Regions from separate parts of the Homo sapiens genome. Here regions 2, 3 and 4 are each linked to region 1. The links are contacts of gene promoters, found by promoter capture Hi-C in human tissues and cell types (Jung and others, 2019). All regions are on one chromosome and are shown on one strand. Each heading gives the region's core, a stretch centred on a gene start or on the middle of the fragment in contact. The rest is flanking DNA. Distances are from core to core; before and after follow the strand shown. Region 1 holds the start of CD180 (CD180 molecule). Region 2 overlaps MAST4 (microtubule associated serine/threonine kinase family member 4). Region 3 overlaps MAST4 (microtubule associated serine/threonine kinase family member 4). Region 4 overlaps MAST4 (microtubule associated serine/threonine kinase family member 4).

Region 1 (3,187 bases), core at 445-2,944:
TGATCTTAAAATTCCAGCCTCCAGAACTGTGAGACAATCAATTTCTCTTGTTTAAGTCACCTAGTCTATGGTATTCAGGGTTTTTTTGGTTTGTTTTTGTTTTTTGGTGTATTTTTGGTTTGTTTGTTTTAAGACAGAGTCTTGCTCTGTCGCCAAGGCTGGAGTGCGGTGGCACAATCACGGCTCACTGCAACCTCTGCCTCCCGGGTTTGAGTGAGTCTCCTGCCTCAGCCTCCCGAGTAGTTGGGATTACAGGCATGTGCCACCATGCCCAGCTAATATTTGTATTTTTAGTACAGATGGGGTTTTGCCATGTTGCCCAGACTGGTCTCGAACTCCCAGTCTCAAGGCATACACCCACCTTGGCCTCCCAAAGTGCTGGGATTATAGGCGTGAGCCACCACGCCTGGCCCAGTCTGTGGCATTTGTTATGACAGCCCAAGCAAAGCAACACACACCTTCCCAGCCTTCATTTCTCATTGGCATGATGCCTCCTCTTGGCCTGCTGCTGATTCCATCCTAATGCCAGACCAACAAGGCTCTGCTCACCCAGCTCTGAGCCTTACCCCAGTGCTGGCTTTGCTCTGCTCTTCCTGATCCTCTGATCTCCTTCTAGTCCTGCCCCAGGGCAACTCCACATCTGGCTATTCCTGGCTCTTACTCTTCTTTTTACCTCAACCCAGACCAGCAGCTCACCAAGCCACCAAGACTCATGGTTCCTCCTGTATGCAGCCCTTGTCTGACAGGCCACGTGGTATTGATCACTTGTGGGGTCAGAGAAAGTGGGAGGAAGTTTGAAGCATTTTAGAGGATGGCAAGAGACGGAGGCCCTTCTCCTTTTTCTCTCATTATCCCCTCCAAGAACTTCCCACAGGTTGATAAATATTGCTATGGTCCAAAACAGAAGGTGCAATTTGGCTCTATTCTCAGATTTTCCTCCTATGGGTTAGTAAAACAGATGGAAGGCTGTCCAAGTCCAAGAGAGAGCCAGACTCATTCAGAGTGATCTTTTCAATGCTCGAAAACCTGGCACAGCGCTGTCTTTACTAATTCTCACCCTGAGAGGAGACCAAAGGACTCATTGGGATAGAGGCCATGTGAGAGTGGGGATGTTAAACCAACAGCTCCCCTAGGTTGAGGCAGGTTTAGGGGTCTGCTTTGTGCACACAGACCCTATTAATATCTTATGACCCACTTGGGATTATTTGGGTGGAATTGTTTGAAGAGGAGAAAAATTCTCTTTGCTTCCTATTAAGATGCCACCAGATGATCCCCTGGCAGAGTTCTTTGGCTCCTTTCTCACAATAATGAAAAAATTATATATACACCTTATTTCCTTTTTAAAGACACTAGATATTGGGATGCCAAGGCTCAGATTGGACTGCGTGCTAAATCTCAAAATTTTCAGACAGTTTAATCTGCATAAAGACAAACAGTTTGGACTCACCTCAATGCACATCTGATCCCAGGAGGTGATGACTTTACAGCCGGCAGAAAACAGCACCACCCAAAAGAAGCAGCTGACGTCAAACGCCATCACAGGCTAGGATTGCTTGGTGGGTTTACCTAATGCTTGGAGCTGAGAAATGGAATCAAACTGTGAAGGCCCTGGCAATTTGGCAGCCAGAGAGGTACTCAGAAGGGTGATCTTGGAACAAGAAATGCTGTTGACTGCTCAGCATTCTGTGGCTCTGTGCTGGAAAAAAAAAAAAAAAAAAAAAAGGAAGTCCCTTTTGCATACCACCCATCTTTGCCAAAAATAACTGAGGACCCAACCCCAGAATGGCCCGTTGCATTTCCTGGCACTGAACATGAATCAGTTGTGCAGTCCTTTTGGGCTGATCACACAGACTCTCATTGTGATGGTTCCAATTGACTTTATGCCAACTTCAAGCATTTGGCCAACTCCAACAGCTTCTGGTCCTTTTCCCCGAGAGAGGCTGTGGAAGCTCTACTCACCAAGGAGGCCACTTTCTTAGTTGTCCTAGGTGAGTGAATAGAAGAGGTGTCAGAGAACATGGAAGGGCAGAGCACTCTGCAGGGGCAGACTGAAGAACTGAGCCCTTCAGTGGCACCTGCTGAGCTGGGAACTGGAGCAGGAGGGAGCAGGCTTGAGAGTGTATCTGCTCCTTGAGCCTCAGCTGCTGCCTTGGCCACCTTGTCCATCCCCACCTCTGGTCTTCGTATAGGGGGAAGATTACTTCATCTCTTGACCTGGCGGTTCAGGCTTGTTAAAGCAGTTGGGGTGGACTCTCTTGTTCCCTCCTAACCTGGCCTGGGGAAGTAGGGGACACTGCCATAGATAGAGCAGCCTGGCTAAAGGAGAGTAGAGTTAGGGATGCCAGCCTTGGCTCTATTTCTTCTTAGAAATAGCTTTGAAGCAGGATTACAATTACCCTTATTATGGAGCAAGATGTGGCAATGATTAAAGAAAGCCAAAGTTCAAACATTCCTCAATAGGCTGCATTTAGCTACCTGTTCTGTCTGTTCTTCAACCCTCTGGCATACAGGATATATTTGGTGTTACTGTTCTCCCACTCCATTTCCAAGAGCCCAGTTCTTAGTATCAGAGTTCACAATGACTTAACTACTGCTACTACTACTACTACCACCACCACCACCACCACCACCTCTACAGTATTACTATGATGAATCAAATGACTATAGTATCTGCCATTTATTGAGTCCTTACTATGTGTCAGACACTGGGTCAGGTTTAATGCAGTTTTTTGCTGCATTTTCCTATCCTCGAATATTTCCATATATTCTATAAGAGAGATATTATTATTTCCCTCATTTTATAGATGTAGAAACTGATGCTTAAGAGAAATTAAATGATCTCTCCAAGCCACACAATTAGAGAGTGGTAGATTAGGGCTTCAGATCCAGAAAATCTCACTGCAGAGACTATGCTGCTACTCTTCACAGTTTAAGAAAGGACTTTGCCTCCTGAAGGAGCTGAAGAGTAGATGGGGCGAAGAATGTTGTTCATCTGGAGATTTCAGAAAAGATGCTAAAAAGCAGAGGGGATTGGAGGAAATATGTACTTGGCAGTCTGCTAGGCCTGCTACACATATTTGGGCTTTTCCTGGTCACCCTTAAAATGCCATCTTCATCAACAAAATCATCTCTGAAGATGCTATCAGCAAGACACAGTCTAAGCAAACCCAGACCAATGACGGACCAC
Region 2 (3,187 bases), core at 304-2,803, 360 kb before region 1:
TTTAACTTTGCTTTCCTTCATTGTCTAAGAAAAGCCTTTATGTAGTATTTAGCACCATCAATGAAAGGTCCTTCAAGGCTCTTTTCTATTTTGTGCTGTCTTTTGGAATTAAGCAAGATAAATCAACTTTAATTTGGTGCATGTCTCTAACCCTTAGGACGTGGTTCACCTGTAGCTGGCTGCCCTATTGAACCACCTGGAAAGCTTCCTAAAGCCTATAGTCTAGATACAATCACAGCAATTCAATTAGCATCTCTCAGTGGTGTGCAGCCAGAGTTGAAACCCACTGCTCTTAGGGGACTAGGGGTCCAGGTAACTCCCAGATCATCAAACCTACAACTTCTCAATATCCAAATGTAAGGTTTGACAGCCTTTAAAATGTATGTCAGTGCTTTGGTCTCCTTTCTATCAAGTCTCAAGTGAGACTTGATTTTATATATATATATATATATATATATATATATTTTTTTTTTTTTTTTTTTTTTTAATGTGGAGGTGTTTGGAAGGTGGATATACTCACCATATTTGTTTGTTGAGCTTCCAAATAACAACAATGATAGTAACATGAGAGCTCAAACCATTAACCAATCTGCCTTGGGGGGCAATTATCATAGTGGGGTAGCTGGAGGCAGCTCTAGACCATTACCTCTAAGGGACCCATGGCACTGGTAGTGTCCAGGTGCAGTTTTATGTTTTTAAAATTGCTGGACATGCTCCATGGTTTCCATTAGAAAACCACCTCCAGGGCATGATGAGACAGTTGCTTTGTCCCTTAAAATGTTTTCCTAATGCTAGAGACAATAATGCCTGTGATTTGGAAACCTTTATCTTAGATACTCTTCAATAATGTACATGTTTGAGCTCTCAAAACATTGGCTATTTTATTTAGATTGTGAATGTATGTGCTTTTTTGATGAGGCAGTCAAGGACAGAACCCCATTCTTTGCTTTTCTTTCAATAAATGTTTAATGATAATAATAGCATATATTGAACTGTTTGTGTCAGAGAACTGTGTGCTGTGTCTTAAACTTACCCTATTGTACTTTTATCTTAGACTCTAGCAGTACAAAAATGAGTGGAATATGACACTGACCTGTGAAGGGTTTCTGTTATGGTAGGTGAGACAGACAACAGTTTCTGAAATAGCAAATGCTACAACTATCATCAGTCAAGATACAGGGGCCTTGAGCATGGTGCCCTGCTCTGCGGAAGGAAGCCGGGAAGCCTTCATGGAGGTGGAGATATTTCTGCCGGATGGTGAAGGATGAACAGGTACTGATTAGGCAAGATGAGGATTCTAGGCGGAGGAAGCAACAGTGTGTGCAAGGTGTGGTGGCTGAACAGGGTGCATCTTTTTCAAGGAATTGCAAATAGTGCATGTGGGAAGCAGGAAGTGTTTAGCAGAGTCTCAAGAATGATGCTGTCTGTGTTCAGGGATTTGGGCCTCATAGTCTAGCAATAGGAAGCCATTGAAAGACTGTAATCAGGGCATAGAAATATTTTATCAACTGTGAACTATTCTGTCAACTATTAATGAAGAATGCTTAGGAAGAGGCCAAGAAAAGAAGTAAGATAAACAGCTAGGAATTTAGAAATGAGGAGGTGGTAGATGATGCTGCTGGACCGAGGTGGTGACAGTGAAATGGAGAAAGGCAACTGAAGGTAGAATTAACAGGACATGGTGACCTGTTGATGGTTGGCAAAAGAGAGATGGAAGAAGCTTGAGGTGACCTTATGGTTTCAGGAGTTAGGGATTAGAAACAAGAGCAAGAGATAAATGTGACTTGGATGCTGAGAAGAGAATTAGTTCGTTCTGTGAATCTTGAGTTTGAAGTACCTGTGGAAGCCATCTAGGTGCAGATGTTCAGTAAGCAGTTGGATATGTAGTTTTAAACTTCTAAAGAGAGCTCAAGCCTGGAGAGAGACTGTAAAGTTACCAACTATAATAATTAATTGAACTAGACTGTGAATAAAGAGAAAATGCAATTTCTCCCAGACTCATAGATTTCTGTTAGAATGGTTTTCCAGAATTGTACCATAATGTGTATTTTAACACTTATTTTGCAGGAATGGTTAAAATTACATGGTGCACAAAGTAGTTCTGTGGTTTAGTATCAGGCCTTGAAAATAATATGTCCAGCTTTGAAGATGTGTAGGTTTTTTTTTTCCCCAAATTGCTTCCAACTTTGACAACTTGCCTACAAGTCTCATTCCAATACAGTTTTTGAAAGGCAGAATGAAACATCTCAAACTAGAGGCTGTAATGGAAAAAGCAATTTATTTTTAAATGAAGATGATGAGGTTGGTGTACTGTATTACTTGAACAGTGAGTGAATTTAAAAGAGTGAGATTACATCAAATTCAGCCAAGATTTTTGTTCCATTTGAATGGAGTATCTGTAATTGAAGATGGGTGTTCAACTAAGAAAAACACATGACATGTACATTTTTATCAGTTTTCTTGCACTCTGTTTCCAGTTTCTTTGTGCATGTGTGTGTGTGTGTGTTCACAAAGCCATTGCATCATATTGACAATTTTTTTTTTTAAACTGACGCGTTCTTGGGCAACAAATGAGAATACAAGCTTAATTTTACTAGCTTCACTTTTTTTTTGAGCTTTGGCCTAGTAGTTTAGTATGTTGAGAATATGCACTCCTCAGGAAAGTGGTAGGAAGTCAGACGTAGAATCTGTAACAACTAGCTCAAAATGATGAGAGAAAACATTAAATATTTTCTAATTGGAAATTTTAAAATGAAAATTTTTTAGCTTTGTGCTAAAATTTAGAAGCTAGGTCTAGAAATATTTCATTTTATATTTTTATCTTAACATTTTTCATGATGAGATAGTGATTGTTTTATCTTTTTTAATTACCTGTTTTCTCAATTTTAGCATCGTTGTGAATGAAGGTAAAGATTGAATTATATTGATTCAAGATTGATTTGACTCTATTTTTTCTTTAAAACTATATTCCAAATATAGATTGTTAAGCTCACAGATTCATTTTCCATTTCTGTTTAGCAATCAAGCTAAGAGACAATATGGTTACTATGAATCAAACTTGGGTAGTGTGATAGATTCAATCCTTAAATTTTTTACTTCCTGTAATAGACATGTACATTCATTCCTTGCTTGGCCTCATGATAGGCAGAGCCTGCCCTCCACCTCTTGACTCTGGGCTCAGCCATGT
Region 3 (3,187 bases), core at 391-2,890, 300 kb before region 1:
ACATGTATTATTTGGGCTTCTGTAAATGTCCTCTTTTAAATCATAAATTTACCCTTAGTTAGAAAAGAAGCGTTCAGAGATTCTCTAAACACGTGCGGCATGTATAGCCATATTGTTTTGTTTGTCTATGAATAGCTGTTAAATACCAAAAATTAGTTTTAAAATTACCACTGTGGCAGTTGCTTGTACATGTAAAACATTACAGTTTTCTCCCCTGTCTTCATGAATGAGATAGTTGCCTTCTCTTTTTGAAGCTAAGGATGGCTGGGTGAAAGGAGCAGGATCATTTACGCTTCTTTCTTCTCAGACTCTCCATGAGTTTTCTTCCTGGATTGGAGGGATCTTTTGGTAACCTCAGGTATATTGAGAGATCTCAAAAACAACAGGATTCTCAGACAAGATTAATTTTATTTAATCTTTATCTTTAATGCAAATATTTGCTAGTTAACACTTAAAAGTCTGGGGGGAGGATACAATATCAAGCAAGTAATGATAAACAGCAACTCTAAAAAATGTTAAATGTCATTGAGTCATCAATATCAATGAAAATCTAGAAATTTTTAATCTTAAGAATTTCTTTAATCCAGTGTCAACAATTAGCATATTGTTTAGTTCAGATGGATACTTCTTGCTGTTTTTTGCTTTTTTCCCTTTTTCTTTCCTCCTCCAATTCTTACGTGACAGTAAATTTTTAACACACACTCCACATATGTCAAGCACAAGCTTGGGTTTATGACCCAGACCAATACCACGTCTTATCTAATTATCTAAGTATGTGTTAGTGACCTTATCCTGACATTAAGAAAATAAAATGAGGACACATACACGAAGTACTGCAGGGACTTTGGCGATAAAATGACTTGATGCCGTTCATTGACGTCTGACAGGTGCAGATTTATCAGCATGTGGCCCTCATCCATTAGGGCAGGAGCTGCTCCCCGCGCAGGCTGCAACCGCTTAGCCCTCCTGGTATTTGCAGACTTTTGCAGCTATTGTTCACAAGGTCTTGGCCACAGCACATTCATTTCTCTCACTTTATTACCATCACATCTGATTCCAATTTGCTACCAAATTGAGTTTCCAGTCCTGAGCCTGACATTCAAGCCATCAGGTGGATTAGCTCCTACAGCTTGGTTAGCGTGGTAGCTTCAGGTCAGTTGACAGTGGCCTATTAAATGTCCTTTGCTCCTCATCTTGGAATCTCGGCTGCCATCCCGTGGAGCAGCAGTGCTGGGTTACCCACTGTAACCTTTCTCCTTGTTTAGAACTCATAATTCTAGACCTACTGGAAAGATTTCTGATTAAAAACAGAGTTGGTTTTTATCCCTTATCTTGCTGTTTCAGCAGCTTTTTCTCAGAGCAAAGCAGCCAGTTTATGCTCAGGTTATTTGGTGGAATATGATTGATGGAACTATTTGGGTCATTCGTTTGGTCCCTTTCCTCTTATATCTTCTGAGTGATCTATTTGCATATATAGTTGAAATAACATCTGATTTATTATTTTGTTGTTATTAATGATAACACCTCAGGTACCTTTTATGCGGCTGTCAGATCAGCTTATTGGACAGAGCAGTATTATTCATTTGGTCTCTAGGCCTTTGCTCTGCACTAGTATCAATGCCTTTCTAGGAGAAATGGCCTGAGTCTGGTACAGTGTGGTGTATTTTGTAATCTCAGCTACTCAGGAGGCTGAGGCAAGAGGATGCTTGAACCCAGGAGTTTGAGATCAGCTTGGGCAATGTAGTGAGACCTCATCCTAAAAATAAATAAAAATTAAAAAATAAAAGATACAGTGTGGTGAGCTATTACTTCTAGGAAGTTCTCTCTTTTTGTTTTCTTTAACCTGAATACAACACTGATTTCTCAATGCTTATGGTAACCAAAGATCCATGTATAGAAAATTACTCATTGGTTTTCTATTTATGTTTCGGTTCCCAAGGAAAACTGTCTTGGTCAGAGACTTTTCTCTTGTCATTAGAGGTTTTAGTAAATGAAGGTATATTTATGTTTCAGAATCAGGGAGCCAAGTTCAGCAAACACTATAATTTCTTGGAGCTAATCAAGGATTAAAGAAAAAAGCAAAGCAAAGCAAAACAAAACAAAAAGCACTTTACCACTGAACCCTAGAGCCCTTGAAAAGAAAAGGTTTTGCTATTGGGTGAAAGAAGACGACACTTCATTCCTAAAATTGCTGATTGTTTTTCTTGCTTTTGAACAGTTATGATTGCTGTAACTCTGTATGGAAATATATTTGCCAGTTAATAAGTAAGTCCTGCTGTGTTTAAAGCAGCAGCCACAGAGCTCTCCTCCCCTCTGGTCTGATGCTCTCACTGCCACTTTCTGTAAGCTGTGCTGGAGTAAGTTGTGCTGTGGAAAAGTGATAGCTGAGCCTGCTGTCCATGACAAACATTGAAATATTCAATAAAAATAAGAGACAGGAAAGGTGAGTTTGAAGCTGATGGGGAAATACCTTTCAAAGGATAGTGCTCAAGCACCTGAAAGGCAGAAAAATAAATGAGAATTATGGGCATGAATAACCAAATTTAGTCATAATGCGCTTCATTTTGAGTTTAAATAGCCAAACGACTCATTGCTTCCTGTTCTTTAATAATTGACAGCAAGTAATTATTCTTGAGCTTTGAAAACTTCATTAGTGGATAAGAGGTATTTCTGAATCTATTTTTGTTTATTTCTTTGGTTGGCTTGTTTTCTTGGGTGGTTTTTTAGTTTTCCACAGCCTCTTGATGATTAGGTAGGTAAGAATCTTAAAATTGAGATAAGTGTGAAGGCACCCTTTTAAAACTATGAAGCACTCTAATAATTGTTGTGGTTGTCTGATTACCTTTTAGAAGTTGATTAAGCTACTTTTAAATATCCCAAGGAATAAATGGATGTTTTGAGAAATAATACCAAAAGGAAATCTTTTCCATTATTATTTTAAAAATAGGAAGTACAATATTTGGTATGCATAATGTTTGCATGAATATATTTCTGTTGAGGGCAAATAGTTTGATTTAATTGTCCTTTACATTGCACCTTTCATTTAATTATAATCCTGCAAAATGTCTCCTACTTCTTATAGTTAAATCCTGTTTGGATAAGTTCTTTGCTTCTTCAGATTTTCCGTATGCTCAGTTGTAGGGCCGTGTAACTCAACTCAGTATTTTACTGTAGTTGCTTTGGGAAG
Region 4 (3,187 bases), core at 226-2,725, 260 kb before region 1:
GCTCATATGTACTGCTTCATTTATTGCACTATCAGACTGTCTTCCCATCTCTGAATCTCCAAGACCTCAAAGTATATGGCACCTAGTAGGCATGGAACAAATGTTAATGGTGTAATGGATCGGGCATTTATTTTGGTGCATAGTAGGATAACATTTTCTTCCCCTTTTGCTAACCACTTTCTCCTCCAATTACTTAGTAATCCTCCTCTCCTCACAGAAATTCTTTCAGGTTTTGTGGTCTGTATTTTCTTTAGCCATTACTACACTATTTTTAACAAGGGTAGACATATGTTTCTATATTTGCTCTTCTTTTACAGGTTTTTATGTAGTACGTTCATCTACTCATTTTTTTCAACTATTCATTTTTTTCTAGGTAAGTTAGAATCATGGTTGAGGTTCTCCCTTCATGCTGTATTTCCCTAAGGTGCATATTAAAAGTATACATTTTACTTAGGAGAAAGTGTCATCCTGTGGCATCTAATTTTTTCTTCCAGAAACATTTTTTATATTCAGTCTAATGATTCTGGTATTAGTTTCTCTTTCTAAAGTGTTTTCTTTTCCTTGTAGTTAACCCATATTTTTTTATGATTATACCCTTTATTTTAGTTTTGTTTTTATGTTAATAGTTTCTTCTTTTATACCACCTTTTCTTGTTGTCATTGGCAGCAAAACTGGAATTTTATATTTTTCTGTGGGATCCATTCAGGGCACTTAGCTGTTATATTTATATTAATTCTAATAGTTTTTCAGTTGAGTCTGTTTGGTTTTCTAGATACAAAATTATGTACAAATAATGATAATTTTTCACCTTTTTCAATACTTTTACCTCTTTTAGAACTGTCATATTGCCTAGAATCTTATTCCAAATCAGCATTACATAATGATTATGGTAGATGTTTTTTCTTATAATGCTTTTACTGCCTTATTAAGATAAATCTAGACTGTTAGTGTAAAATATGCTCCCTAGTATAAGAAATATTAAAATTTAAAATGCCATATAACTGAAAATTGGTTTTTAGTTACATGGTAATTTTGTCACATAGTGCCTTGTTCATATTTAAGTGAAAGCTTCTTGCTATCCAGAAAGAGAAAATGGCTTCAAGATATGAAAAAATTGCCGGAATTTAATGGACCTGTATCTTTTAATCAGAAGAACACTGTCTAATTGGCTTTACAATGGTAATGATTGTGTTCTATTCATGAGTTTAAAGAGGAGTTGGGCAAAGGTCCACCAGGCTGTCTGTTGAAAACCCAGGGAAAACCTGGGAACAGGGCCGAATCTGAGATACACCAAGTTATACCTGAACCGTAACCAGCCTTTACTCAGCTCAGCCATGACTGCACTAAGGTGATCAATTCTCTATCTGCCTATATGAGGAAGAGTAACACCCTCTTGTAGAAAATAACATCCTTTAGAGCATGTGTTCTCAGTAGGCACAAGATTGGTTCTTCCAGTGTGAAACAAATATTAAATGGTACAGTGATTTGTGGACCTTCAAAAACCCACAACACATAAACAGATACAACTGGCAGGTTGGGGAAATTAGTAACAAAAAGTCTATTAAAGTTCTTTATAGAGATAATAGTGAAAAATAAAGGTTGGGGAACACTGATTTAGAGCCTTTTCAGTTTTTTAGTATAATACCTGATAATTAAAAGTTATAGATATTCTAAAAGACAAAAACATGTGACCAAAAGACAGTAGACAGACAATATAATGTGCATTTGCAATTTTGCTCCAGAGATTGGAGTTAGAACATATGGACTTAAAAATACATAATTAATGTTAACTTATATTAATCAGTTAACAAAATAGGTAAAAGAAAAACAGATGGAAATTTGGAAAATTTCATCAGAGAATTGAAATTTGTGAAGAGAGAAACAAATAGAAAACTGAAAAGCATAGTATCTGAAATTAAGAACTCTCTGGATGGGTTTAAAGTTAATTAAACACAGTGGAAGACAGGATTAGTAAACTGGAAAACAGGTTAATAGAAAATAAACTGAACCAGAGAGGAAATAATATATACACGTATTCCACTTGCAAACTGTTTGCAAAGTACCATCTTTTTCCATATCCTTGCCAAAAATATGTATTTTAACAATGTTTATATTTTGCCAATTTCTGTGTAAAGTGATATCTCATTGTTAATTTAATTTGAATTTCACTAACAACGTTTTACCTTTTCATTGTATTTTGCTAGTTAGTTATTCTTTTCTGAGAAATACCAATTCATATTTTGCCATTATGTATCTGGGGTCATTTGTATCAATTTGTAATTGTTTTCTGAGGTAATCTTTTGTCATTTCTGTTACAGATAAATTTTCTAGATCTATATATAAAACATTTGTGATGAATATACTGTTTTATTTTACAACAAATCTGGATTTATTTGTATACAAGATACCTCAGAGATATTGCTGGGTTTTTGTTTTTTTTTTTCCCCAGACCACTGCCGTAAAGTGACTGCAATAAAACAAATATCACAATAAAGCAGCACACAACTTTTTTGATTTCCCAGTGCATATAAAAGCTATGTGTAAACTATACTGTAGTCTATTAAGTGTGCAATAGCATTCTGTCTACAAAAACAATGTACATTAGCCAGGCTGTGGTGGCTCATACCTGCAGTCCCAGCTACACAGTAGTCTAGGGCAGGAGGATGCCTTGATCCTAGGAGTACGAGGCTGCAGTGAGTTATGATCATGCTCCTACACTCCAGTCTGAGCAACAGAGCAAGACCCTGTCTCATAAATATATATGTATGTGTATATATATGTATATATGTATATGTATGTATATACACACACACATATCTTAATTTAAAAATACTTTATTGCTAAAAAACAAGATCCTGTGAGCCTTCAGCAAGTCATAATCTTTTTGCTGCTGGAGGGTCTTGCCTTGATGTTGATGGCTGTTGATTCATCAGGGTGGTGGTTACTGAAGGTTGCGGTGACTGTGCCAATTTCTTGAAATAATTCAACAATGAGGTTGCCACAGCAGTGGACTCTTTCTTTCACAAAAGATTATCCATAGCAGTCAATGCTATTTGGTAGCATTTTATCCACAGTATAACTTCTTCCATAATTGGAGTCAGCCTTCTCAAACCCTGCTATTGCTTTATCAACTAAGTTTGTGTAATATTCTAAATCCTTTGGTTTTATTTCAACGTTGTTCATAGCA

The links. Contacts are between HindIII fragments. The study calls those that stand out against the background at their distance.
Region 2: a contact is called between a fragment that was not itself captured here and the fragment with the promoter of CD180 in region 1, in 1 of the 25 tissues and cell types used here (dorsolateral prefrontal cortex).
Region 3: a fragment that was not itself captured here is called in contact with the fragment with the promoter of CD180 in region 1 in 1 of the 25 tissues and cell types used here (dorsolateral prefrontal cortex).
Region 4: a fragment that was not itself captured here is called in contact with the fragment with the promoter of CD180 in region 1 in 1 of the 25 tissues and cell types used here (hippocampus).

What each region holds. Positions count from the first base shown.
Region 1 is chr5:67,195,105-67,198,291 of GRCh38, forward strand. CD180 (CD180 molecule) reads right to left here and starts at 1,695. Exons shown (of 3, transcript NM_005582.3): 1 at 1,448-1,695. The coding sequence starts at 1,537. RefSeq lists an enhancer at 519-668. The HindIII fragment of the contact is 16,000 bases long and covers 1-3,187 here.
Region 2 is chr5:66,837,432-66,840,618 of GRCh38, forward strand. All of the region lies in intron 3 of MAST4 (microtubule associated serine/threonine kinase family member 4), which reads left to right. Among named protein-coding and RNA genes, the nearest start is that of MAST4-AS1, 170 kb to the right of the region's middle. The HindIII fragment of the contact is 3,103 bases long and covers 3-3,105 here.
Region 3 is chr5:66,896,524-66,899,710 of GRCh38, forward strand. The region is part of intron 3 of MAST4 (microtubule associated serine/threonine kinase family member 4); the gene reads left to right. Among named protein-coding and RNA genes, the nearest start is that of MAST4-AS1, 110 kb to the right of the region's middle. The HindIII fragment of the contact is 3,339 bases long and covers 1-3,187 here.
Region 4 is chr5:66,937,316-66,940,502 of GRCh38, forward strand. The region is part of intron 4 of MAST4 (microtubule associated serine/threonine kinase family member 4); the gene reads left to right. Among named protein-coding and RNA genes, the nearest start is that of MAST4-AS1, 65 kb to the right of the region's middle. The HindIII fragment of the contact is 6,486 bases long and covers 1-3,187 here.